Linked DNA regions of Homo sapiens: regions 2, 3, 4, 5, 6 and 7 are each linked to region 1. Evidence: promoter capture Hi-C in 16 types of primary human blood cells and fetal thymus (Javierre and others, 2016). All regions are on one chromosome and are shown on one strand. Each heading gives the region's core, a stretch centred on a gene start or on the middle of the fragment in contact. The rest is flanking DNA. Distances are from core to core; before and after follow the strand shown.

What was found. Contacts are between HindIII fragments. The CHiCAGO score rates a contact against its expected background, and 5 or more counts as called.
Region 2: a fragment that was not itself captured here is called in contact with the fragment with the promoter of IFNLR1 in region 1 in 2 of 17 cell types (naive CD8 T cells and total CD8 T cells); the score reaches 7.7 in naive CD8 T cells.
Region 3: a contact is called between a fragment that was not itself captured here and the fragment with the promoter of IFNLR1 in region 1, in 11 of 17 cell types (naive CD8 T cells, total CD8 T cells, total CD4 T cells and 8 more). The highest score is 13.7, in naive CD8 T cells.
Region 4: a contact is called between a fragment that was not itself captured here and the fragment with the promoter of IFNLR1 in region 1, in 1 of 17 cell types (total CD4 T cells). The highest score is 6.0, in total CD4 T cells.
Region 5: the fragment with the promoter of NCMAP here is called in contact with the fragment with the promoter of IFNLR1 in region 1 in 12 of 17 cell types (naive CD8 T cells, endothelial precursors, activated CD4 T cells and 9 more); the score reaches 8.6 in naive CD8 T cells.
Region 6: a contact is called between a fragment that was not itself captured here and the fragment with the promoter of IFNLR1 in region 1, in 1 of 17 cell types (total B cells). The highest score is 5.5, in total B cells.
Region 7: a fragment that was not itself captured here is called in contact with the fragment with the promoter of IFNLR1 in region 1 in 1 of 17 cell types (endothelial precursors); the score reaches 5.9 in endothelial precursors.

The regions. Positions count from the first base shown.
Region 1 is chr1:24,185,564-24,189,105 of GRCh38, forward strand. IFNLR1 (interferon lambda receptor 1) reads right to left here and starts at 1,726. Exons shown (of 7, transcript NM_170743.4): 1 at 1,628-1,726. The coding sequence starts at 1,685. RefSeq lists a silencer at 1,499-1,988. The HindIII fragment of the contact is 11,665 bases long and covers 1-3,542 here.
Region 2 is chr1:24,658,739-24,662,280 of GRCh38, forward strand. It overlaps SRRM1 (serine and arginine repetitive matrix 1), which reads left to right. Exons shown (of 17, transcript NM_005839.4): 10 at 1,981-2,061; 11 at 2,572-2,658. Among named protein-coding and RNA genes, the nearest start is that of SRRM1, 17 kb to the left of the region's middle. The HindIII fragment of the contact is 543 bases long and covers 1,409-1,951 here.
Region 3 is chr1:24,636,375-24,639,916 of GRCh38, forward strand. No RefSeq gene overlaps it. Among named protein-coding and RNA genes, the nearest start is that of SRRM1, 5.2 kb to the right of the region's middle. The HindIII fragment of the contact is 1,720 bases long and covers 701-2,420 here.
Region 4 is chr1:24,588,126-24,591,667 of GRCh38, forward strand. All of the region lies in intron 1 of NCMAP (non-compact myelin associated protein), which reads left to right. Among named protein-coding and RNA genes, the nearest start is that of NCMAP, 34 kb to the left of the region's middle. The HindIII fragment of the contact is 8,325 bases long and covers 1-3,542 here.
Region 5 is chr1:24,554,165-24,557,706 of GRCh38, forward strand. It overlaps NCMAP (non-compact myelin associated protein), which reads left to right and starts at 1,923. Exons shown (of 4, transcript NM_001010980.5): 1 at 1,923-2,005. NCMAP-DT (NCMAP divergent transcript) reads right to left here and starts at 1,860. Exons shown (of 3, transcript NR_109781.1): 1 at 1,652-1,860. The HindIII fragment of the contact is 15,304 bases long and covers 1-3,542 here.
Region 6 is chr1:24,538,402-24,541,943 of GRCh38, forward strand. RCAN3 (RCAN family member 3) reads left to right here. Exons shown (of 5, transcript NM_013441.4): 5 at 1-2,639. NCMAP-DT (NCMAP divergent transcript) reads right to left here. Exons shown (of 3, transcript NR_109781.1): 3 at 873-1,475. Among named protein-coding and RNA genes, the nearest start is that of NCMAP-DT, 16 kb to the right of the region's middle. RefSeq lists an enhancer at 2,658-2,952. The HindIII fragment of the contact is 2,630 bases long and covers 1-2,565 here.
Region 7 is chr1:24,517,135-24,520,676 of GRCh38, forward strand. The region is part of intron 2 of RCAN3 (RCAN family member 3); the gene reads left to right. Among named protein-coding and RNA genes, the nearest start is that of RCAN3, 16 kb to the left of the region's middle. The HindIII fragment of the contact is 1,714 bases long and covers 1,093-2,806 here.

The DNA.
Region 1 (3,542 bases), core at 476-2,975:
TCTAGACCCAAAAGTGGGTGCCTGCTTCCACCTCATCCTGTGTCCTCTAGCTGGGACTGTATCACCACGAGGCTAGTGCTATTACTACTCCCAGCTTCTGGACTTCCTAACGGGTGACCAGCAGGAGACCAGGCTGTCTGCAAGCCACTTGTAAGGTATCCTATGGGCAGGACAGTCCCCAGATTCGAGCTAGGTCACATGAGAAAAACAGCAGTTAGAGCAACTTTCCTCTATGAAGCCTTCAAAGGATGCCAGGCACTAGTTTGGCTCTTTACATGTAAAACCTCAATCACCCTTGGGACAGACCACCCTATGGGGTAGGTGTCATTCATTCTGCTTCCATGGAAAGGGCGCTAGGCTCAGAGACAGATGCTAACTAACTTGCCTGAGGCTACACAGTCAGTTTGTGTGGGAGCCAGTATTTGAACTTAGATCTGGCTGTACTTACTCCTAAATCATCACACCATAGTTAGTGTTGTGTATATTAAATACTTATCAGGTGAAAGTACAAGAAGGTCTGGGTTTGACAGTGAAAGGGGAACAGAAGACCCCACCCTCCCTCCACACACAGGTACACGGTCCCTCATCAGCCACAGAGAACGCTGCTGTGGGCACTGGGGGCTGGAGCATCCCTGGCTGGCCTAGTGACCCAGTGGATGGACAGCCTGTCCCACGTGCCTACCCTGGAGGCAAAAGCTAGCCAGGCTTGCTTTAGCCCCTCTTCTCTCTTCTGTGTGCCTCACCTCTGCCATCCTTCTTGAGGAATTCCCTGAATTGCTCTGAGCCTCAGTTTTCCCATCGGAAAAGTAAAAATAATATCTACCTCCGAGGATGGCTGGGTCGTGAGGCTTCCAGAATAATGCGGTGCCTGGCACAAAGAAGTTGCTGAATAAATATAGGCTTTTATGATGATTGGATTATGCCCAGGGACCTTTACAGCTCTTTAAACTGTGAGTCCAAGACTAGGAAAATATCCTGGGGGCGATTTCTGGACCTTCTCTTCCCTGCTTCGGTTGGAGTCGTGGGCGGTGAGGTTTGGTGGTTGGGTCCTACGGCGAGGAATTTTGTACCTGACACCTTACTCATCAGTAGAGGTGGGAAAACAACAACAACAACAACAACAACAAAACAACAACAAAACAACAACCACCACCAAAAGAAAGCCGTCTTGTTAGAAAGCAGGGCACAGGCGACCAGAGCTCCGTCCCACCAGAGGCCTGGCAGGAACGGGAAGGGACATCAATCGGTCCCACTTTCCCTGCTGTCCACACTTTAGGGTCAAGTGTGGTTTTCACGCAGGGATCAGTGCTTTCTTTAGGAAACATTAAAAAGCACTTTATTAAAAAATATGCAGTATCAAACTGCCGCTGTCTTTTTTCTCCAGTTCTCCTGAAGCTGGAAGCATTAGGAAACTGGATTCGTTTCCTGCGGGAGAGGAATATCAAAGACCCGGTTCTGTTCAGTCCTGGGAAGAAGCAAACTGGGGGCGCGTAGGCAGGGCCGATTCGCACCCGGCTCGGGTGGCTGCGGACCCCGTGCCTGTCCCAGGAGCTCCGGGTCCGAGGGTAGGCGCGGCCCGGCCCGGGGAGCCCTCTTCCCCCTCCCTCCCGCGGCCCCGCGCCCTTACCTGGAGCGGCCTGCAGCAGGCACAGGAGCAGGGGGCCCCAGCGCTCGGGCCCCGCCATGGCCTTCCTGCCGCGGCGTCCCCGCCCGGGCCCAGGTCCCCGCCTCCCGCCTCCCGCCTCCCGTCTCCTAGCCCACCGCGGGCAGGTGACGCAGTCGGCAGCCAATGGCCCGCAGAGCCGCGGGCCCGTCCCTGCCGCCTAGGATTCACTGAGAAGGTCCCTGGGGACAGCCCCGCCGCGGGGGGAGGGGGGGGGGGGAGCGCGCCGGTCCCCGCGCTCGAAACTCGCCCGTACCTCTGCTTCATCTGCACTTAGTTTTGTTTTACTCAATTCCCGGAAAAAAAAATCAGTAAATCCGTGCACGGGGGAAGGGCAGGGGAGGGGAAGAAACCGGCTGATGATCAATAACCCACGGCCAGTCCAGTGCTCCAGGACGGGCCATTTTGGCAGGATTAGGGAGAGTTCAAGGCCGGTTTGGCTACGCGGCCTCAATGCCATTGGCGGGATCCGAGCGCGTTTCTGAGCCGGATGCTGAGCTCCGCGCCTTACACACGCGATTCCCTTTAATGCCCCCGGGGATCCCGGCGGATCCGTGCTGCCCTTCTCCACGTACTTCTCTCCCGGGGAGCGGCAGGCCCCAGAGCTTCAGGTGCTTGTTCTGGGGAAAGCTGTCTTTCTGACCCCGAAGGCTGTGGTGTTCACCTGGACAGCAGTAGCTTCCCAGTAAGGCACACGCCACGACGCGCAATATTATGCGGCCCTTTAGGAGGACGTTGCCGAATGGTGTGTATCGACACCGAGGTGTTTGCAACACACTGAGAAACAGAAAAGCGAGTGCTAAAACATAGGCCCATTAAAAAAGTGTGTGTGTAGCCGGGCGCGGTGGCTCACGCCTGTAATCCCAGCACTTTGGGAGGGTGAGGCGGGTGGATCGCCTGAGGTCAGGAGTTGGAGACAAGCCTGGCCAACATGGTGAAACCCCGTCTCTACTAAAAATACAGAAAATCAGCCGGGCGTGGTGGCATTCACCTGTAATCCCAGCTATCAGGGAGGCTGAGGCAGGAGAATCGCTTGAACCCAGGAGGCGGAGGTTGCAGTGAGCCGAGATCGCGCCACTGCACTCCAGCCTGGGCGACAGAGTGAAACTCAGTTTCAAAAAAAAAAAAAAAAGTGTGTGTGTGTGTGTGTGTGTGTGTGTGTGAGTCTGTCTGTATGCATAGAAAGATATTTGGAATAATAATTACCAAAATATTAATGGTTGTTGTCTTTGGGTGATGAGGATTTTCTTTTTCAACTTTCTTCTTTTCTGATCATATTTCGTTTCCAATTTTTTGATAATTATTTGAAACTGGGATCAGCTTTGGTCCCATCAGTTTTTGGAAGAGAAAATGATTTTCACAGAGCTTGGTGGGTCCAAAAGTTGCTCTGAGTTTAACCGCGGGGGAAATTTCTTTTGGAAATTTCAGGATGCTTCTGGGACTAGCATCAAGGCTTCTGCTTAATCAGGATTTTTTTTCTTTTTTTTTTTTTAGACAAAAGCTCTGTCGCCCAGGCTGGAATGCAATAGTGTGATCTTGGCTCACTGCAACCCCGCCTCCTGGGTTCAAGCTATTTTCTCACTTCAGCCTCCCAAGTAGTTGGGATTACAGGCACCTGCCATCATGCTCAGCTAATTTTTGTAGAGATGGGGTTTCACCATGTTGGGCAGGCTGGTCTTGAACTCCTGACCTCAGGTGACCTCAGCCTCCCAAAGTGCTGGGATTACAGGCATGAGCCACTGTGCCTGGCCTTAATTAGGATCTCTTAACAAAGCCCTGCTCACAGAGGACGCAATTCCACCTCAAAGGCGCAGGGTGGAGGAGGATGGAAGAGCAGCAGGCACGGTCAGTGTTGGTATCTTGGGATCTCTGAAATGTT
Region 2 (3,542 bases), core at 430-2,929, 470 kb after region 1:
GTTAACAATTTTAAAATATTTTTATTTCTTTGAATTTGTTAAAATATAAGTATTAAGTATAGTTTGCTATTTGCACTGTCATGATTCCTGATATCTAATTGAGTGATAGCCATTCTTTACCCAATCCAGTGATTTGTCCAAATGGCTTATTACGTAGAAATTTTAAGAAAAGTCGCTGGGCGCGGTGGCTCACGCCTGTAATCCCAGCACTTTGGGAGGCAGAGGTGGGTGGATCACCCGAGGTTGGGAGTTCAAGACCCGCGTGACCAACATGGAGAAACCCTGTCTCTACTAAAAATACAAAATTAGCCGGGCGTGGTTGGCGCATGCCTGTAATCCCAGCTACTCAGGTGGCTGAGGCAGGAGAATCCCTTGAACCCGGGAGGCGGAGGTTGCAGTGAGCCGAGATCATGCCATTGCACTCCAGCCTAGGCAACAAGAGCGAAACTCTGTCTCAAAAAAAAAAAAAGAGAGAGAAAGGGAAAAGTCTGTTCATTGAAAAGGCATACTGGTAAATTCTTCATTTTGACTTCTTTAGCAAAGATGCGATTACTGTGTTAGATCACTGGTTCTCTAATTACTGCCCCTTGGAATAAACCATTACAGAATTCTGAATGTGAGTGTCTGTTAAATGAGATGTATCTGTATTCTGAGTCAAACATTCCATGGCAATTGCTTTAATCACACAAAACAGGTATCAGGATCCTGAGAGGATCAAATTGTCTGTAGGTTTATTTCTTATTGGGATGTTCTCAAGTGGTGTTTTAGGTTAATTTATGGTATATATATGTTTATATGTGAATATACTTATGATTTTAGTTGTAGCAATGGATAGATACTATAAGCAGAGTTAGTTGTTGAGATTAAAACCCATGGCCTAAAAATAGATTCTTGGATTCACATCTTAGCTCACTTAAATTGTCTTTGTGACTGAGGTGAAGTTGCTTCTTTTTAAGCCTCAGGTTTCCTCTCTTGTGAAATGGAACAGGGAGAAAGGGATGTGATACTACTGTGTTAATAGTGTGTCTAATACAGCAGGCTTACAAAAGGTAGTTACCATATTTCTATGTTATTGGTAAAAGACAATTGGATAATTCATAGGATACCCACTGCTCTCCTACTACTTGAGGTATAGAAATGCCTTTTTTTCTTTCTAGCTCTTTGGAAAGAATCCTCGTCTTTGTATTTAATCATTTTTACTATTTGTGGCGGTCTGCTTTTTTTCATGGGTAGTTTAAATCCCCTGTGCTATTGTGAAGATTATGCTCTACATAAAGAACCTTTAACCTGTTGGGCAGTCATTCTTCTTTTCTAGACCAAATATCTTTGTGAAAGTTTCATGAGATCTTATTTCTTAATCATTTATCATCTTTTACTTTTCTGAACCCACCTATTGTGGTTGCTTAAAAGCTTTCATGTTGATGAAGTCTCTGAAGTTGAGTGTGAGGGAGTGAGTGTGGGTGTGGAGGGTGTGTATTTTAGATTGTGGAGCTCGTGTAGCACACAGAGGTTTACTTTACTGAGCTTGTTCTACTCAGTAGCAGCTCCCAATTTCCTTTAACTGTTGGTTTTCTTGGGAGAATCTCAAGATTTGAAAATCATTGTAGAACTTTTTGAGGCTTTTCATTAAACATTTAAAAATTCTTGTCTCACTTCAGATAATGTTCAGATATGACAACAAGGTCTTACAGGAATTTTTTAAGTCTTCATAAATTCTTTTTGAGAGTAGTCACACCCATTTTTGTAATAGCAGGAAGGCATCTTGGCTGGGCACAGTGGCTTGTGCCTGTAATCCCAACACTTTGGGAGGCTCAGGCAGGAGGATTGCTTGAGGTCAGGAGTTCAAGACTAGCCTGACTAATATAGTGAGACCCCATCTTTATTTAAAAATAATAATAAATTTTTAAAAATTAAAAGAAAAGCATCTTGTATAGACCTTTTTTTGTACGTAAGCTTTTTTCCACTCTTATTCTTTTTTAGTGACAAAACATAAAGGTACTGAGAAAAGAGAATCCCCTTCACCAGCACCGAAGCCTAGAAAAGTAGAGTTATCTGAATCGGGTAAGTTTGTTGTTTTTTTTTGTGATTTTGGTTTGTTTGTTTTTGTTTTTCTTAAAGCTGATTTTGATTTTTTGCACATTTGGTCATCCCCTTCTGCTTGAAGATTAAGTATAGGGTAAGAGCTAAGACTCTGAAGGCAGACAGACTTGGGTGGAATCCCCCATTCCAGAATTTAACTGTTTCTGTTTTAATTAACTTATCTGAGCCTTTCTTCTTTCATCTCCGAAATAGGGACAGTAGAGGTTTTTGACAGTTAACTGTATCTGCTTGTAAAATGCTTGGCACCAGCCTGACCTGTAGTAAATGCCTAAATAAATTTTATTATATTTGGTGAAGATAGTCTAAATCAGCCTGTGAATTGGCATTTTAAACTCTTTTTAAAAAAAATATATAGTAGTTGTATTTTTGATCCAACCAAATGAAGGTTTGAGAGACTATTTTCCTATTCAAATTGCAAATTTTCTATATGCTTAACTAAAGAAACACTTTCTAAATGCATCCATCTTTCAGAAGAAGATAAAGGTGGCAAAATGGCTGCAGCAGATTCTGTGCAGCAGAGACGCCAATACAGACGACAAAACCAGCAGTCTTCATCTGGTATGGATGGTGATGAAAGTTTTTTTTCTACCTGTATTTCCTATTAAAAAATACTTGGTATATAAACATCTGTGTGTGCAGCATGAGTACTTACTTGCCTACATAGAAATCTGTCTGAGGAGGCAGGATTGTTTCTTTTTTTGGTTTTAAGTCCTTTTGCAAAATTTAATTTTCTGTTACATTGTTATAAAAGTAATAGGTCCCTAGGATACAATAGTGAAACAGAAAACAGAAGTATAAAATTGGAAACGTATCATTCTTTTTCCAACCTCCTAAAGCTTTTATTCAGAAATTTTCTGTGCATATAGAAAAAGGAAAAGAAAAAACCCCACAGAAGCTCAACTGTAGATATGTTGCCTCACTTTTTAACTTAACAGTATATTTAGAACATCTTTCCCTATTAAAAATCTAGACTGGGCGCAGTGGCTCACACCTGTAGTCCCAGCACTTTGGGAGGCCGAGGTGAGCAGGCCGAGATCAGGAGTTCAAGACCATCCTGGCCAATAGGGCGAAACCCCATCTCTACGAAAAATACAAAAATTAACCGGGCATAGTGGCGCACACCTGTAATCCCAGTTACTTGGGAGGCCCAGGCAGGAGAATCCCTTGAACCCAGGAGGCAGAGGTTGCAGTGAGTGAGCTGAGATCGCGCCACTGCACTCCAGCCTGGGAGCCTGGGCAACAGAGCAAGGCTTTGTTTCCACAAAAAAAATAATAATAATCTACCCTATTATTTTACTATTTGCATTTTTTATTGTAAGAATATACCAGGCTGGGTATGGTGGCTTAACCTGTAACCCCAACACTTTGGGAGGCTGAGGTAGATGGATCACTTGAGGTCAGGAGTTCGAGACCAGCCTGGCCAACATGGCAAAACCTTGTCT
Region 3 (3,542 bases), core at 311-2,810, 450 kb after region 1:
TATGTGCAAAGATCTGAGGGGAGAAAGAGAGAAAGAATACATCCATTCTAGATCTGGAAGTATACAAGCTGCTACACTGAAATAGTTTCAACTTACACACTTACTGTGGTAGCCAGCCTCCAAGATGACCCCCGATGACCCTCCCCCTGCTACAGAAGGACATAATATTGATGTCCTTCTGTAGTCCCTTCCAACACTTAATGGGGGTAACCTGTGTAACCAATAGGATATTATGAAAACTATTGTGCATGACTTCTGAGGTTATGGTACAAAAGACATTGTGGCTTCTGTCTTGCTCTCTTTTGGATCATTTGCTGCCATGTCATGGAAACCAAAGATGCCCTATCATTGTGGGATGGAACTGAGGCCTCTAGCCAATAGCTATATAAGTGAGTCTTCTTGGAAATATATTTTCCAGCCCCAGTTGACTGTAACCTTGACTATATACTCTTGAGAAACCCTGAGCCAGTATCACCCAACTTAGCCTCCCCAGATTCCTGATGCATAGCAACAATGAGAGATAACAAATGTTTATTGTTCTAAGTTGCTAAATGTGGGGAGTAATTTGTTATGCGGCAATAGATAATATACTCACTAATGTGCTCAAAAATATCTCCTGGAGCAAATGCATCTGTTTCTATTCTTCAGTCATTTTCATCTGAGCTATTGGTTGGATTCCACAGCTTCCTTGGTAAATTTAAGCTTATACATTTTTTACACATTTTTGAAGTACTTTAGGAAGACTGTTAATCCTGTTGTATCCAGGAAACACAAAAGCAGAAGTGGAAGGAAGAGGCAAACGATGGAAACAAAAGTGAAGATGATAACAAAAATAAGAAAAGTATAAAACCTGCCCCAGCCTATGGAATAAATGTTCGGTAGGAGGGATTCTGAAGAACACAGGGAACAAGCAACAGGTGAAACTCCTAAACCATCAACATCAATCACCAAGCAATGAGGAAAAGCTGTTGATGAAATGGAAAAATCTGAGTCTGTGCCTTGACGATCGGCACCAAGGTTGGATGCCTATTAGCTTTCTGAGGCTCAGAGTTTGAGGATTCAAAGAGCAGACCCAGCAAAAGAGCCATGGTAGGTTCACTAGGAGTGGCTTCTCGGCATTAAGACCTATTTTGGTTGTTTGTTTTTTTGTTTTTGTTTTTTGAGACAGGGTCTCAATCTGTCGCCCAGACTGGAGTACAGTGTCGCGATCTTGGCTCACCGTAACCTCCCACTTCCAGGCTCTAGAGATTCTCCCGCCTCAGCCTCCCAAGTAGCTGGGATTACAGGCGTGTGCCACCACTGCCCGACTAATTTTTGTATTTTTTAGTACAGACGGGGTTTCACCATGTTGGCCAGGCTGGTCTTGAACTCCTGACCTCAAATGATCCACCCGCCCCAGCCTCCCAAAGTGCTGGGATTACAGGCGTGAGCCACCGTGCCCAGCCAACACCTATTTTGATCTGCCCAGCATCAAAGTGAGCAACAGGTGGTGTCTGCAAAAACTTTCACTGCCAAGTAGTTATCCACTGCATCTGCAGGGATCATCAGGTAGGCAGCTCATCGGCCTCAGCAGATTTTCCGGTATAGACTCTTACTGATAGAATCAGTGGTTGCAACATTTTAACCAACAGACACTCATTGATAGAAATACTTTTGGAAATTGAGTCTTAGACTCTTTTTTAAAAATAGAGGTGGGGCAGTGGGGTTGGGGGTATCTCACTATGTTGTCCAGGCTGGTCTCAAACCCTTGGCCTGGAGCAATCCTCCCGCCTTGGCCTCCCAAAGTCCTGGGATTACAGGCATGAACCATGATGCCCAGCCTTAGACTCTCATTCATATACTCATTTCGACAAATGTTTATTGAGCTCCAAGGATGGGCAAATCCACACCCACATAGAGCTTTTTTATTTAAAAAAAAAAAAGGAAGAAGATAGTAAACATATAAACAAAATAGATAATAATCCCAGGAAATGTTAAGTGTTATTTAAAAAAAAATAAGGGGCTGGGCACGGTGGCTCATGCCTGTAATCCCAGCACTTTTTGAGAGCCTGAGGCGGGTAGATCACGAGGTCAGGAGATCAAGACCAACCTGGCTAACACGGTGATACCCTGTCTCTACTAAAAATACAAAAAATTAGCCAGGCGTGGTGGTGCATGCCTGTAGTCCCAGCTATTCAAGAGGCTGAGGTAGGAGAATCACTTGAACCTGGGAGGCGGAGGTTGCAGTGAGCCGAGATCGGGCCACTGCACTCCAGCCTGGGAGATGGCAAGACTCTGTCTCAAAAAAAATAAATAAATAAATAAATAAAAAATAGGACTGGGCATAGTGGTGCGTGCTTGTAATCCCAGCATTTTGGGAGGATGAGGCAGGTAGATTGCTTGAGCTCAGGATTTTGAGACCAGCCTGGGCAACACGGTGAAGCTTCATCTCGAAAAGAAAAAAATACAAAAATTAACTAGGCGTGGTGGTGTGAGCCTGTAGTCCCAGCTATTCAGAAGGCTAAGGTGGCAGCATCACTTGAGCCCAGAAAGTGGAGGCTGCAGTGAGCCAAGATCACACCAATGAGCCAAGATCACACCAATGCACTCCAGCCTGGGTGACGCAGTGAGATCCTGTCTCCAAAAAAAAAAAAAAAAGAAAGAAAGAAAAGAAAAATAGGCCAGGCATGGTGGCTCACGACTATAACCCCAGCACTTTCGGAGGCTGAGGTGGAAGGCTCACTTGAGCCCAGGAGTTTATGACCAGCCTGGGCAATACAATAAAGCCCCCGTCTCTAAAAAATAATTTAAAAATTAGCTGGGTGTGGTGGCACACACCTGTAGTCCCAGCTACTCAGGGTGCTGAAGCAGGAAGATTGCTTGAGCTGGGGAAATTAAGGAGGCTGCAATGAGCTGTGATTGCATCACTGCACTCCAGCTTGGGTTACAGAGTGACCCTCTCTCCAAAAGAAAAGAAAGAAAAAGGTAAGACAGAGTGAGGGGATTGAGGGTGTCCTTTTTGGAAGGTTGTTCAGAAAAGGCTTGATGAAGAGGTGCCATTTGAATCATCTCTTAGTCATTTTAGGCTTACCAATATATAGACAAATAAATTGCCATTCGAAATCTAAATCTGTTCATAATCAGACAAGCATCTGTAGTTTATTGTGGCTGCAACTTAGAAGTAACGGATGAGGAGAGGGAGGCATAAGCTATTAAGAGAGGTGAAAAGGCAAGAGTTGGTTGTAGAGTGTGAGGAAGAGAGAAGAATCATGATAGAAAGAAAGGTGGGCTCATTCATTGAGAATGGGAAACCAGAAGGTTGAAGGCAAGTGGATGAAGATGAATTCAGTTTAGGGTATGTTGAGTGTGAGGTGCCTATGGGACATCCAAGTGAATAGGTGAGCAGGAAGTTGAAAATATAGGTCTGGAGCAGGCCTGTGCCTGAGATACACAGGTTTGAAATATGAAAGGTAATCAAAACCGAGAGGTCAGAGAGGGCACCTTTGTTGAGGGAAAAAGTAGTCAATGACAGAACTACCAGAAAAAACAACATTTATAGGATT
Region 4 (3,542 bases), core at 273-2,772, 400 kb after region 1:
GGCTGAAGTGCAGTGGCTTGATCATGGCTCACTGCAGCCTCAAACTCCTGGGCTCAAGCGAATCTCCCACCTCAGCCTCCCGAGTAGCTATCATTACAGGTTCACATCACCACACCTGGCCTTAGGGTCAATTTTCTGACCATTAAAACATCCCAATATCTCCAGGAGCTGCTTGGGAGTAGTGAGCCACTTGTCTGTGGAGGAGATCAAGTCCTGCTGAATCTCCCATCCCTCAGGAGATTGGGAGAAATCAATCCCAATGTTTTGGTGGGTCGAGGGCTTTCGTGGGTTACCTGCTCTGAGTTACAGGTGGTCAATTGAGGAGAGGTCTGCCGGGGTTGGTAGTCTCTCTATTGTCTTATCCAGGGAGGAACTTGTAAGCCAGGCCAGAGGGAGAGGGGGTACCCCTAGGGCAGAGCTTCAGGGGAGATATTTTGGACAGGTGGGAGTCTGACAGCGTTTATCTTCCACATTCAGCTCTTAGACTTGGCCAAGAGCTAGTCAGAGAAGGATGGATCCGTGAATAAATGGTTATGACCTGCCATCACTTCCCAAACTCGCCTCCCACACAGGCCTTTGTAAACAACCCAAGAAAACAACAGTCCCTTGTAGATTCTGTAAATGTGATCGAGGCTCTGCTGAACACAGAGGCTCAGAGTGTGGCCAAGGGCAGGAGTAGTTGGGTAGGAGTCAGGGTCAGGGTCATAGGCCTGGGGCAAGGGCCCTCGTCTGTCTGCTGAACCCTGGCCTGTGTGGGTTTTTTCATCAAAGCCCCACATTGATTTGGGCCCTGGATGCTGGGCCACCTGTGCTTTGTGGATTTGCTGGGAGGGTTTTTGAAGAAGGGGCTGTGAAATCGGATAGACCCTGGTTTGAATCCTGGCATGGTTGGCATAGTTTTCATATTAGCCTTGTGAAGTTAAGGCAGTTTCTTCTCTGCTCCAAGCCTCAGATTCCTCATCTTCAGAATGGACAAAGTGCCTGTGCCCTCCTTACAGGACTGGTATGAAGATTAAGTGAGATCTCCAACATAAAGCACCGAGTGCGGTGCCGGACACATAGCGCATTATTATTATTATTAAATTAACCTCTGTCAGTGAAGACTGGCCTCCCTCTCCCTGTCCTCTTTGTGTTTTCTATGGTCATGGCCCCTGGTCTTAGGGACGTTTGATACTGAAGTGCTCCTGCTGGCCCTCACTTGGTTAACAACTGTTGCTGGGGCCCCACACATGAAAACACCCACATGCTTGGCCATGGCTGTGCTACCACCCTCCCTCCCACCTTCTCTGATGCAGCAGGGACAGAGATGCAATTGAGAGCCCTCAGTCCCGAGATGAGGCAAGATATGCTCTGAGATTCCTCACTGTTCTCTGAGAGAGAAGAGCTACTGGGCCCATCCAAAAGACAGTCTGCACCTGGAACTCGGCACCCAGGAGGTCACCCCTGCAGGACCTGTAGAGGAGCCTGTGTCCTGGTGGCCTTAGGTGGCTGCATTACTGGTCAGTGTGTGTATGTGTGTGCATGTGTGTGCCTCCATGTATTCCTGCAGTGACTGGTCATAGACCCCACCAGTGTGTGTCAGGGACAGGGTGGTGTGGTAGGAAGGATGCAGACGTTGCCACATGCAACACCCAGGTTCACAAACCAGCTCTGTAGCTTTGGGGCTACGTAAGTGTGGATAGTTAGCTTTATGTTTTTATTTTTATTTTTATTTTGAGACAGAGTCTTGTTCTGTCACCCAGGCTGGAGCGCAATGGTGAGATCTCAGCTCACTGCAACCTCTGCCTCCCGGGTTCAAGCAATTCTCCTGCCTCAGCCTCCCTCAAGAGTAGCTGGGATTACAGGCAACTGCCATCACACCTGGCTAATTTTCCATGTTGGCCAGGCTGGTGTCAAACTCCTGACTTCAAGTGATCCACCCGCCTTGGCCTCCCAAAGTGCTGGGATTACAGGTGTGAGCCACTGCACCCGGCTGAGAGTTGGCTTTATATTATCAAGTCTCAGGGTCTTCATTTGAGAGAAGGGGAAAGGAAAACTTATCTTACATGGCATTTTGCTAGTTGAATCAGGGCATGGATAGAAAATATCTGTCACAAGGTCTTGGCACACGGCAAACACTCAAATGGTGGCTTCTGTCATTTTTGTGCGTGTTGGTATCACGGTGAATATGTCCATGGGTTTGGGTTGGCCAATGATTGTTCCATGTCTCTCTCACTAAGCAAACCTTGATCCGCAGCCACCTATTTGTATCTCTTTTCTGTATTTAAAAGGAATTGTATGAAAGCCTCACTGGTGAGTCTTCTTAGCTTGATGTTGGTGAGGCTAGAAGGAGAAGGTTTAGGGAAATGCATGCTAATACCCTTCACGTACTGAGGCAGGGCCGGCATCTCCCCTTGAGAGTAGAGGTGGGCAGTGCTGGGTGGGAAAGGCTTTCATTCCAAATTCTCATACTTGTCTGTGCTTTTAAAATTTTATTATATTTATTTAGTTTTAGAGACAAGGTCTTGCTCTGTCACCCAAGCTGGAATGCAATGGTGCCATCATGGCTCACTGTAGTTTGTGCCATCAAACTCCTGGGCTCAAGTGATCCTCCTTCCTCAGCCTCCCAAGTAGTGGGGACTACAGGCACACACCACCACCAGGCTGGCTAATTTGTGCTTATTTTTATAGAAAGAATGTCTCCTAGTTTTCAGCTCCAGATTTCCCTGTCTCTAAGTTAGTTCAGCAAATATTTACTAATATTCACTATAATACTTAGAGCTGCCATTTAGTGAACACTGAAAAACACTTTCCATACCCCACTTCTCACTCTCAGCTCCCTTAGGGAAAGGGAGAGGCAGTTCGTTTTACAGATGAGCAAATGAAGCTGGGAGAAATTCAGTTACTCATTCCAGCCCTTGCACGGCGAAGGAGAGAAGACCCAGACACTTTATCTGAGGAAGGTAAAAGGATATGAGAAAGAACAAGAAATAGTCTCCATCCTCAAGGACCTGACAATGAAATGTAGCATTAATGGCAGACAAAGCAGTGGACACATGCCTTGGTGATGTTTCTTTGCAGGGAGCTGCTGTGGGAGGGTAGGGGACAGAATCTCTATTTCAGTATGAGTAGGAGTCTTCCTTGGGGGGCGACTGGGGACTGGGCTGTGTCTTTTTTTTGAGATGGACTCTCACTCTGTCACCCAGGCTGGAGTGCAGTGGCGCAATCTTGGCTCACTACAACCTCCACCTCCTGGAGGTTTAAGCGATTCTTCTGCCTCAGCCTCCCAAGTAGCTGGGACTATAGGCGTGCACCACCACAAGCGGCTAGTTTTTGTATTTTTAGTAGAGATGTGGTTTCACCATGTTGGCCAGGGTGGCCTCAAACTTCTGACCTCAAGTAATCTGCCCACCTCAGCCTCCCAAAGTGCTGGGATTACAGGCATGAGTCACCGTGCCTGGCCTGGGCCGTGTCTTGAAGGCTACGCTCTTTTTCTTGGGGAGCAATAGGGCATGGCTAGCCTGGGCCTGTTTCAGGTGTTGGGAGACAGGAAGCCCAGGCAG
Region 5 (3,542 bases), core at 673-3,172, 370 kb after region 1:
GGTGTCCTGTGGCTTAGCCAGCCTGGATTAAGGGACAAAGCAGAAGGTGGGCTTGAGCCATAGATAACAGAAGGCTGAAGACTACCAAACCCCACAGAGAAGGACCTAAGACATCAAAGTCCCCCTTCCCAGCTCCTGCCACTTGGCATAATCATTCTCCCACTTACCTGGCACTTCACAAGTGTGATCTCATTTCTAATCCTCACCGCAACTATACTGAAGTATCTTCTCTTCATTTTACAGAAAGAAACAGTCTCAGAAACTACTCCCATCTTGCGAATAGTAAGCAGTGGAGCCAGGATTTGAACCTGAGACCATGCACTGGGGGCTCTTGCCCCCACAAACAAACCTGGAAAAACTTCCAGAAGCATCCTGAAGTGGCCCCCCCCAGTGCCATTTACTGTGGAACTCAGGCCTCAGGGCCAGAGCAGGCTCCCACTGGACTCCTCTCCCCACATTGTGGCCTCTCCCTGTAACCAGGTCTGCCTCCCCCACAACAGGGAAGCTCTTGAAGCCATGGATTAGCACCATGCTCCTTAAAGACCATACTCAAGTGTCTCAAGTCTTTGATGAGAAAGTAGAATTACAGGATTATACTCTCAATCAATATTTGTTAATACCACCTTGCAGCTGGGCATGGTGGCTCATGCCTGTAATTCCAGTACTTTGGGAGGCCAAGGTGGGAGGATCGCTAGAGCCCAGGAGTTAGAGGCTGCAGTGAGCCGAAATCCCGCCACTGCACTCCAGCTGGGGCAGGAGAGCAAGACCCAGTCTCCATAAAATAAAATGGGTTGGGAGCAGTGGCTCATCCAGCACTTTGAGAGGCCAAGGCTGGTGGATCACTTGAGGTCAAGAGTTGAAGACCATCCTGGCCAACATGGTGAAACCCTGTCCCTACCAAAATATATATATACATACACACACAAAAAAATTAGCCGGGTGTGGTGGCATGTGCCTGTAATCCCAGCTACTCGGGAGGCTAAGCCAAGAGAATCGCTTGAACCAGGAGGCAGAGGTTGCAGTAAGCCGAGATTGTGCCACCACACTCCAGCCTGGGCTGCAGAGTGAGATCCTGTCTCAAAGATAAATAAATAAATAAATACTACCTTGGAGTTTCCTATAAAAATACGTGTTTTCTTCCTATAAAAATCTTAGTTCTTAGCTGAGGAGAGTTTGAAAGCATCTCACAGGCACTGAGCGGCAAGGCAGTCGGCCCAGATGCAATCACTTTCTGGAAATCAATTGAAAATAGAACCGGGAAACCAGCCTCCACTCCTGATACTGTTACTAACCTGCTATAAGACTTTGTGCTCACCTTTGCTTCCTGGGCCTCAGCTTCCCTGTTTCTGAGAGAAGAGATCCCCTCTCCGAGATCTCTTCCCGCTTTCTATAAATATTGATTGAGTACCCGCTGCCTGCCAGGGATATCGCCCTGGGCTCCTGGGATACAGCTGGAATCTCGACAGCCTGGGGAGGAAGGAGCCTTTGATCCTACAGCGGCAAGAGTTCTTGACACTTGCCGGCTGCCAAGCCTGTTTCCTCCCGGTCTAACGTTCTGTGGTTGTCTGAATCTCCAGCTGCCCCTCAAAACCTTCAATCAGATTAGCGCCGTGCTCCTTTAAAGACCCTACTCAAAGTGCCTGGAGCTCACCTGGGTGTGTTTGTGAGGCCCTTTCCCTCTCTTTACCCCGCGGAGGAGTCCGACCTGGAAGCCTCCTGCTGGACTTCTCTACTGGACTGAGTGCCCGGGAGTGCCAGAGCCAGTCCCAAAAAGGACCCAGGAGCGGGGACACCACGGGGAGGCGCCGCCACTCCAGTGTGCGGGACCCTGGCACCCCCGGCGCGTTCTCCGGCCTCCCCAGGATCACCTGCACGGGGCGGGGCCGGGGGCGGGACGCCCCGGGCGGGGGCGGGATCCCAGGGTGGCAGCGCCGGGCGGCGGCGGGGACCCTGGCTGGGAGCGCGGCGGTGCCGGCGGGAGGCCGAGCGGGGCTCGACAGAGCAGGTAGGAGGCGCCTGGTCGCCGGGGTTGCCCGGGGCTGCGGGGAGCGAGGAGCGGTCCGGCCCAGGTGCGGTGGCTTCCTGTCCACCTGCCGGCCGCGCTGGGCGAAGGAGGGCCCGGGGGTGGGGACGAGGGGTCCCCAGTCTCACCCCCACATCTGTTGGAGGAAGTGCCTGGGGTCTGCGCGGGAGGGCGTTGGTCCGGGGTGGTGGGAGGGAGGCTGATCATCTCCAGTGGGTCTTGGAGACGAGGTCGTTTCCTTGTCCCCTCCCCACCCAAGCATCTGGCGGAGGGGCCGAGGCTCGCTGGAAGAAAAGGGAGTCGACCTTGACCCGGCCTGGAGATAAAGGAACTTTTACCCACTTGGGGCCTTATCCGCCCCATCTGTTAAATGGGCGCCTTGATGGGTCTGCCCTATGCAGAGGCCCCTCCGGAAGATCTGCGATTCAGCGAGATGAAAACCCACGGCAGAGAAGGAGCCCAGGGCCGTAGTTTCCATCCACAGCACGTTTGGAGGGGCTCGGGGGTCGCTCATCCAGCAGCGCTCCTGAGGAAGGATGCAGAGACGGCTCCAGTCCTCTGGGTATCCTTGTGGGAGGAGATGGCTGTGTCAAATATGAAGGCTGGATTAGAGAGACCAAGGCAGCCCTTGAGTCTGGGAGAAGATTCTGGAAGGCCCCTTGGAGGAGGTGGCATCTGAGTGGGGCAGGGAAAGGAAAGGTGGTGGTTAGGGCAGCGCTTTGGAGTCCCTGCTTTACCCCTCAGCCAAGGCCGTCCAACAGTCTCGGGCAAGTCCACACTTTTCTCTATGTTTCAGTTTGATGTGCTCCTTAAATGAAACAATTTCTCTGACAGATTAAATCAGATAACTCATAAAGTGTTTAATACAGGGTGGGTATATAGTAGGCACTCAATGAACATGAGCTATTAATGTCTGCTAGCAGCTGCTTGGGGGCAGGGATGATGCCTATTTGGTTCACCCTTGTATCCCCAGCACCAGCACGGTGCCCAGCATGCAGTAGGTCTCAATACATATTTGTCCAATGAATGAATGAATGCATATGAAGTACAATGCTTGGCACAAATAGTGAATTTACAGATGGCTGGTTCTAAGAGGTGGGTATGGATACTAGAGACAGTGGTCTAGGTGGATGGAACAGTTATAAGCAGAAGCCAAGAGCAACAGATTATAGGCACCCCCTCTTATGGTGCATGTGTGTATGTGTGCATGTGTGTGTGTGTGCGCTTGTGTGCATGTGTGTGCATGTGGGTGTGTGCACGTGTGTGCGTGTGTGTGCGTGTGTGTGTTGGTGGTGGTAGTAGAAAGTGACAGGCACAGCCAGAGCACCGGGATAGAAGAGGGCACATAATACCCTGGAATCCTGAGTCCCATCAGCCCGTGGGAGTGGATGATGGGGCAGGAACTCTAGGTAGGCCAATACCTTTACTCATGTCCTCTAAGTGGGGAGAGGGGACAGAAGGGCAGCCAAGAGACACCAAAGGACCATGAATGCCTGGTGGGAGGGGAGGAGGAAATGGG
Region 6 (3,542 bases), core at 1-2,500, 350 kb after region 1:
ATTTATTTATTTATTTATTTTGAGACAGAGTCTCACTCTGTCGCCCAGGCTGGAGCGCAGCCGCGTGATCTCGGCTCACTGCAAGCTCCGCCTCCCGGGTTCACGCCATTCTCCTGCCTCAGCCTCCCAAGTAGCTGGGACTACAGGCGCCCGCTCCCACGCCCGGCTAATTTTTTTTTTTTTTTTTTTTATAAGTAGAGACGGGGTTTCACCACGTTAGCCAGGATGGTCTCGATCTCCTGACCTAGTGATCCGCCTGCCTTGGCCTCCCAAAGTGCTGGGATTAACCAGGCGTGAGCCACTGCGCCCGGCCTTAAATAAAATATTGTAGTCATTAATGGTGTGTTTGAATTGAAGAGATACCAGGAGATAGAGGTGAAGTGCAGTACTTTTATTCTTTAAGAATATAGTCTTTAGCCAGGTGCAGTGGTGTGTGCCTGTAGTCTCAGCTATTTGAGAGGCTGAGGTGAGAGGATCACTTGAGTTCAGGAGTTCAAGACCAGCCTGGGCAACATAGCAAGTCCCTGGCTCAAAAAAAAAAAAGTTTCCCATTCATATTAACTCCATCTTTTAAAAATGTCATGATTACAAAGTGAAAAGATTTGGCTTTCTTAGAGGCTCAATCACAGAGGTGAAAGTGACCTTGGAAATCATATACTCTATCCCCATGTTACACAGATTAGAAAAACTGAGGTTATGGCACTGACTTAGGCACCCCCAGCAAGGCAACCCAGGGACTACAACTGGCAATCCCAACTCCTGGGCTAGGGCTTTTTCTACCTTTTTTTGCATTGGCCTCTTAAAGAGGCAATGAATACTAATTCCTGGCATCAGAAAAAAAAAAAGGCATGAGGTGGGAGGATTCTTTTTTCCCTGATGGGAAACAGTGAATAAGAAAAATCTCATCATTCGATGGAAGAGGTGACTTAATAATTTTATTAATGAATTTGATGTCCCATGTTTTGTAGTTTTGTTATCATTGAACCATTGGGGCTGGAATCTGCCTAAATAATTTTATCTTGGTAGCCAGCAATTATGTTGGTATTTTATGTGGGCCTTCCCAGATTTTCATATTAATGAAATGACTAATAGTCGTACTTAAGAGGTAACTCTACTAAAGCAGAATGAGATCTAATATGTTGTGGAAATAAAAGAGTTTGCAGTGGAATGATACTCTCACTCCGTGCTTGTAAAATTGAGTTCTATTCAAGACGGAACTGCTATGACTGGCCTATTCAAGGCTTCATATTTTTATACAGACTATTTCACAGACCATAGATTTATTTTAAAAGGGAAAATCTCACACATAATTAAGCAGTGGAAAATGTGCTCAATGCTATGGTGCGTCAGGCCCTCTGTCTACCAGGTTTCTCCCCTTTCTGCAGAGCTGTGGACCCTGTACGTACCAAACAGGTGAACTTGGTCCATCTTTCCTTCTTCCTTTTTTTGCACATTTGCATTTATATCTTCCTGTACTAAAAGAAACAAATTATTTATAATTGGGGTGACAATATAAAGGAACAAAAGATGGGGCAATAGTTGCTTCCTAGCTGGAGCTGTAAGTCCATGTTACAGAAACTCACTATTTAAAAAGTTTTAAAAGATTTATGAACCTTGTCCTACAATTCGCTGAATACTTATTTGTCTTTTAAACTCCCCTCGGTGTATGGATCATCTTCGTCAGAATGCCGTTGTTTCATTGTGAATCAGGGGAAAATGTTAATCATTTGGAGACTGTTTTCTTATTACCAAATGTACAATCCATAAGACAACTGAAAGCAACAACTGCTGGGTTCACTGACAAAGATTATAAAAATCATCACGTTCAAAGTAGAGTTTTTAGCCAAGGTCAAGAACTAACCTGGGGCTGAGTCAGCGTCTCTACCCACTTAAATAACAGCGTAAAGATCTTTCACTAAATTCGTTATGTGGTCTGTCTGGATGTAAACCTATATATTTCCTTTTGAAACAGAATCATATCCTGCAGACTCTTGGCACTCCTGCATAGCTTTGACCGAATGTTCACTCTCATCGTAATGGAAGATTTCTATCTATGCAGATAATACATGTTTTTAAATACTGTTTTCTGTTTAGTCCTCAATCTTCCTAACTCAAATTGGGGACTGAGGAGAGAGAAAGGTGGTTACCCCTGTTACCGTGCCATATTCTTCTTGCTGCTTTTCAACCCCACGTGATTGTTGATTGACGGTTCTGCTATAATGTGCGTGCCCTTCAAGTTTCAGAAAACTTTCCCAATCATTTCACTTCAATCTTAATTGAACCCAAGAGTCAAAGTTATTATTTTCTCCGAACGTGTTTGTGATCTTCTGTTATATTTTGGGGCATGTTACCTTTATGGTATATAAGCTGTAGTGCATACTCTTTGTATTGCAAAAAACTGGTCAGTAATTTATGTACATGTATTCCACATTTTAGTGTGCTTGAAGTGACAATCCATAGTTTGTAGTAGTTTGTTATTTGTCAACTTTACCCTGTGTTTTAAGGACATCTAAACATTCCTTGTCCTATCAAGATGACAAAAGCAGAATGTAATTTTTTTTTGGAAGCTTCGTGATTACCTGTAACAAGTTCTGTTTTTAAAACGAATACAAATAAAGTTAGTAACTATTTTTAAATCAGTCCATTGAGTTGAGTTTTTTTGTGTGTAGTATTTTCAATACGCATCACTTACATTTAGCTAATAAGACAGAGAAGTGCAATATTGTGTTTGTTCCTTTCACAAGAGTCCTGTTGAACATTAATGCCGTGCAGTGCCAGAGTTCAAGGTGGTGAGTCACTGCTCACTCTGTAAATAACCACTGCACTTTCAGCTCTTCCCCAAGAAACCTTTTACCCTGGTTTCCCCTTTGGTTAAAAATGATTTATTCCGGGTAAAGACTTACTTTTTGTCTCGGTTAAAAAAAAAAAATCTCCAAAATGTGGAACTATAAATGACAGTAGAGGTTATCTAGTGCAGTGGGATTTCGAATACTTATTTTTAAGCCATAGGACTCTGCTCTTTGTTCAAATGAAATCTTACACAAAGCCAATGTAAAACTATTACAAAAAGGAAAGGTAAACAAAGCTGCTCCTTTTCAAGGGGCTGGGGGAAGAATGGGGACCTGAGTTCAACCCCTGTGAGAGCTCAGCAGAACAGACCCAGACACACCCCTCTATTGCCCCTGCCTCCCTCCACTTCCTCCTCCATCCCAACCCCACCCCCAACACACCTTTACAAGAAAGTGGCCCCAGAGGCATTGCCAAATGCACACATCTGGATGGTCATGGACCTGGGACTAGAACCCATTTCTTGACATTCTTTCTACCACACTCCACTACTTTGTTACACCAAAATCTAATTTTTCTGGATAAATGTATCTGGATAAAAAGGTTCTTGATATTGTTTTGTTTTTGAGACAAGGTCTTGCTCTGTCGCCTAGGCTGGAGTGCAGTGGCATGAACACAGTTCACTGCAGCCCCAACCTCCCAACTCAGTCTCCGAAGTAGCTAGGATGACAAGTGTGCACCACCACACCCGGCTA
Region 7 (3,542 bases), core at 700-3,199, 330 kb after region 1:
CCTTCTCTGCCTCCCAGGCTGGAAGGCTGGAGTGCAATGGCGCAGTCTCGGCTCACTGCAACCTCCGCCTCCCAGGTTCAAGCAATTCTCCTGCCTCAGCTTCCTGAGTAGCTGGGATTACAGGCACATGCCACAATGCCCGGCTAATTTTTTTGTATTTTTAGTAGAGATGGGGTTTCACCACATTGGCCAGGCTGGTCTTGATCTCCTGACCTCAAGTGATCTGCCCACCTTGGCCTCCCAAAGTGCTGGTATTACAGGCGTGAGCCACCGTATCCGGCCAATCTTTTCTATTTCAACCTTTTCTTTTTAACTGTAGCCTGGGAAATTTTTAACCTGCAAAAAGGGTGGGTCCTTGTTGGGTTTCATTTTTTAAACCATTTGGGGATTATATCTAACGTAAATTTATACTGGAAATCATCCCAGCAGAAATTCTAATAACAGCAGTTCAGCGGACTTCCTAGTAAATTGTATTTAATACCCTTAACAGTAATATCTGAAATGACAAAATATAAAATGTTTATATTATGGTTATCTATAGATCATCAGTTGGATATAAAATATGGACAGAATCAAGGCCAGATATGATGGCTCATGCTTGTAATCCCAGCACTTTGGGAGGCCAAGGCAAGAGGATCGCTTGAGACCAGGAGTTTGAGACCAGCCTGGGCAACAGAGTGAGACCTCGTTTCTATTAAAGAAACATTTTTTAAGATATGGGCAGAATCAAATGTTTCCTTTACATTTTTCTTCTATCAGTGTCTTATTTTGTTGTAGTTTCTCCTGAAATCAGCTGTTTATTCAGGTTATCTATGAATGTGCAAAAAATAAAACAGTTGCTTTTGTTGGATTACAGGCAGAATAATCCCGATTGCAATTAAACACTTTAATTTCAAAAAATAATTTCTGGCTGGGCACATTGGCTCACACCCATAGTCCCAGCACTTTGGGAGGCCGAGGCAGGTGGATTGCTTGAACCCAGGAGTTCGAGACCAGCCTGGCCAACATAGCAAGACCCCATCTCTATAAAAAAATTTTTTTTTCCCAGCTTGAAAAAGTTTTTGTCTTTATAAGCTTCTAACTATTGGAGTAAGCTTTTACATTCTTCCGAATAGTAGAATAAATAACACAGGTGCCATTATCATGTAAATGTAATCTTTGCTCTAGATCATTAGATTTTGGCTCTATGTTTTTATCAATATTTCTTAAAAATAGTGTTGGAGGGATAATAAATCATAGAAAAATAAACTGTAAGAAAAATAGGTGGAGAAAAGGACTTATCTTTCAATGTATATTTCTCAGCTATAGGGTTGTTAATTTTATGCATGTACTCTGCTAATCAATAGCTCCATCAGGAGTGCGACAGGCTTAGTGCTTCATTTTTCTTTGACAGATTTGGATTTGTCCCAATGTGATTGTATTTGCTTGTTTGCTGTCTTTAACCCCAGTTTTTTTTTTTCTCTGTCTTTTAAAAAAGCAACAGGGTCTTGCTCTGTCACCCAGGCTGGAATGTGGTGGCATGATCATAGGTCACTGCAGCCTTGACCTCCTGGGCTCAAGCAATCCTCCTACCTCAGCCTCTCGAGTAGCTGGGACTATAGGCATGCACCAGCACATCCAGCTAATTTATTATTTATTTATTTATTTATTTATTTTGGAGATGGAGTCTCACTCTGTCACCCAGGCTGGAGTGCAGTGGTGCAGTCTCAGCTCAGTGCAACCTCTGCCTCCCGGGTTCAAGCAATCCTCCCACCTCAGCCTCCCAAGTAGCTAGGATTACAGGCATCCACCACCATGCTCGGCTAATTTTTTTGTATTTTTAGTAAAGACAGGGTTTCACCCTGTTGGCCAGGCTGGTATCAAACTCCTGACCTCAGATGATCTGCCTGCCTTGACCTCCCAAAATGCTGGGACTACAGGTGCATGCCACTACAACCAGCTAATTTTTGTATTTTTAGTAGAGATAGAGTTTCGCCATGTTGGCCAAGCTGGTCTCAAACTCTCGACTTCAAGTGATCTGCCCATCTCAGCCTCCCAAAGTGCTGTTATTACAGGCGTGAGCCACTGTGCCTGGCCTGATGTTTTTTTTTTTTTTTTTTAAGAGACAAGGTCTTGCTATGTTGCCCAGACTGGTCTCAAACTCCTGGGCTCAAGCGATCCTCCTACCTCTGCCTCTCAAAGTGCTGGGATTATAGGTGTGATCCACCATGCCTGACCCCTCCAGAAGCAAATTAATCTTGCTTCTGGTTTGAACATGAGGAGTTTTCAAAATATAATTTAGGTTTTTATAACATGAGAAATGGGACTGTTTTTTTCTGCCTTAGGTCTTGGTGTTTGAGGGGACTCAGTAAATGTTAGTGTTAGCAGTCTTCTCAGCAGGACATCCTGTACAAAGAAATGCAGTAGAATCTAGTCCCCTTGCAAAGTACTGCCCTTTGTATATAAAACTGTTTATCTGACCTCCTCACCATAGGACATTTGATTTGTGTTTCTGATTATGGTGGTTGAGGGATATTAAGACATCACTACTTGTTCTGCTGTCCTGCTCTGTGATGGGTGACACTGAGCATCTCATTGAGTTCCCAGTGCAAAGCAACACCTGTTAAATGTTTGTTGAATGAATGGATTCTGTAAGATGGTTGTTGAGGCTTAGTGATGCAATGCTATGATCGAGAAACAGAATTGTGAGCTGAGTGAGGCAAAATAGTACGTAGGAGATTTAATCTGAAATTATGCTCCCAGATACACTGGCCTAAATTCTTTTGTGGCTTGTATAATCATATGCACAATTTAAATCTTCCTTTCAAGCTTTGATTCTGTACCTTCCATTTAAAGAAGTATCAAAAATATTATTTAAGAAAAGTAAATGATATTTGGAAGCTGAGTGAAGTGATCTTATGATTTTTAGACTAAATCAATTGTTTGTACATTCTAGCATAGCCTTCAGCCCAGAAAAAGTAGAATCCTTTAAGGAAAGTGATGTTTTAAATTTGGGAATTAAAAAAGAGGATTCAAAGGAAGAATATCTCTGTTATAGTTAACTGTGTTTTTAACAGAGCATGAAACATCCTAAGGTTTCACTAAGTGTTTGTTTAATTGGTTTTATAGTGCTGTTCTGGCCAAGAATTAGTAATTTAGTTAGCTTTGAGGCTCAATTAAATACTAGAGAATCATAGTTTAGAATTAAGAAATCCTAGTCAAGTCTGTATTTTATACAGTGGGTTTAGAGTTATAGACATTGCTACAAAACGTTGTTGAAAGAAATTTAAAGAAGGCACAAATAAAGGGGAAGACATCCGTATCTATGGACTGGAAAACTTAATAACATTAAGATGTCAGTACATACACCGTGGAATACTATGCAGCCATAAAAAATGATGAGTTCATGTCCTTTGTAGGGACATAGATGAAACTGGAAACCATCATTCTCAGCAAACTATCGCAAGGACAAAAAACCAAACACTGCATGTTCTCACTCATAGGTGGGAATTGAACAATGAGAACACAATGACACAGGAAGGGGAACATCACACTCCGGGGAC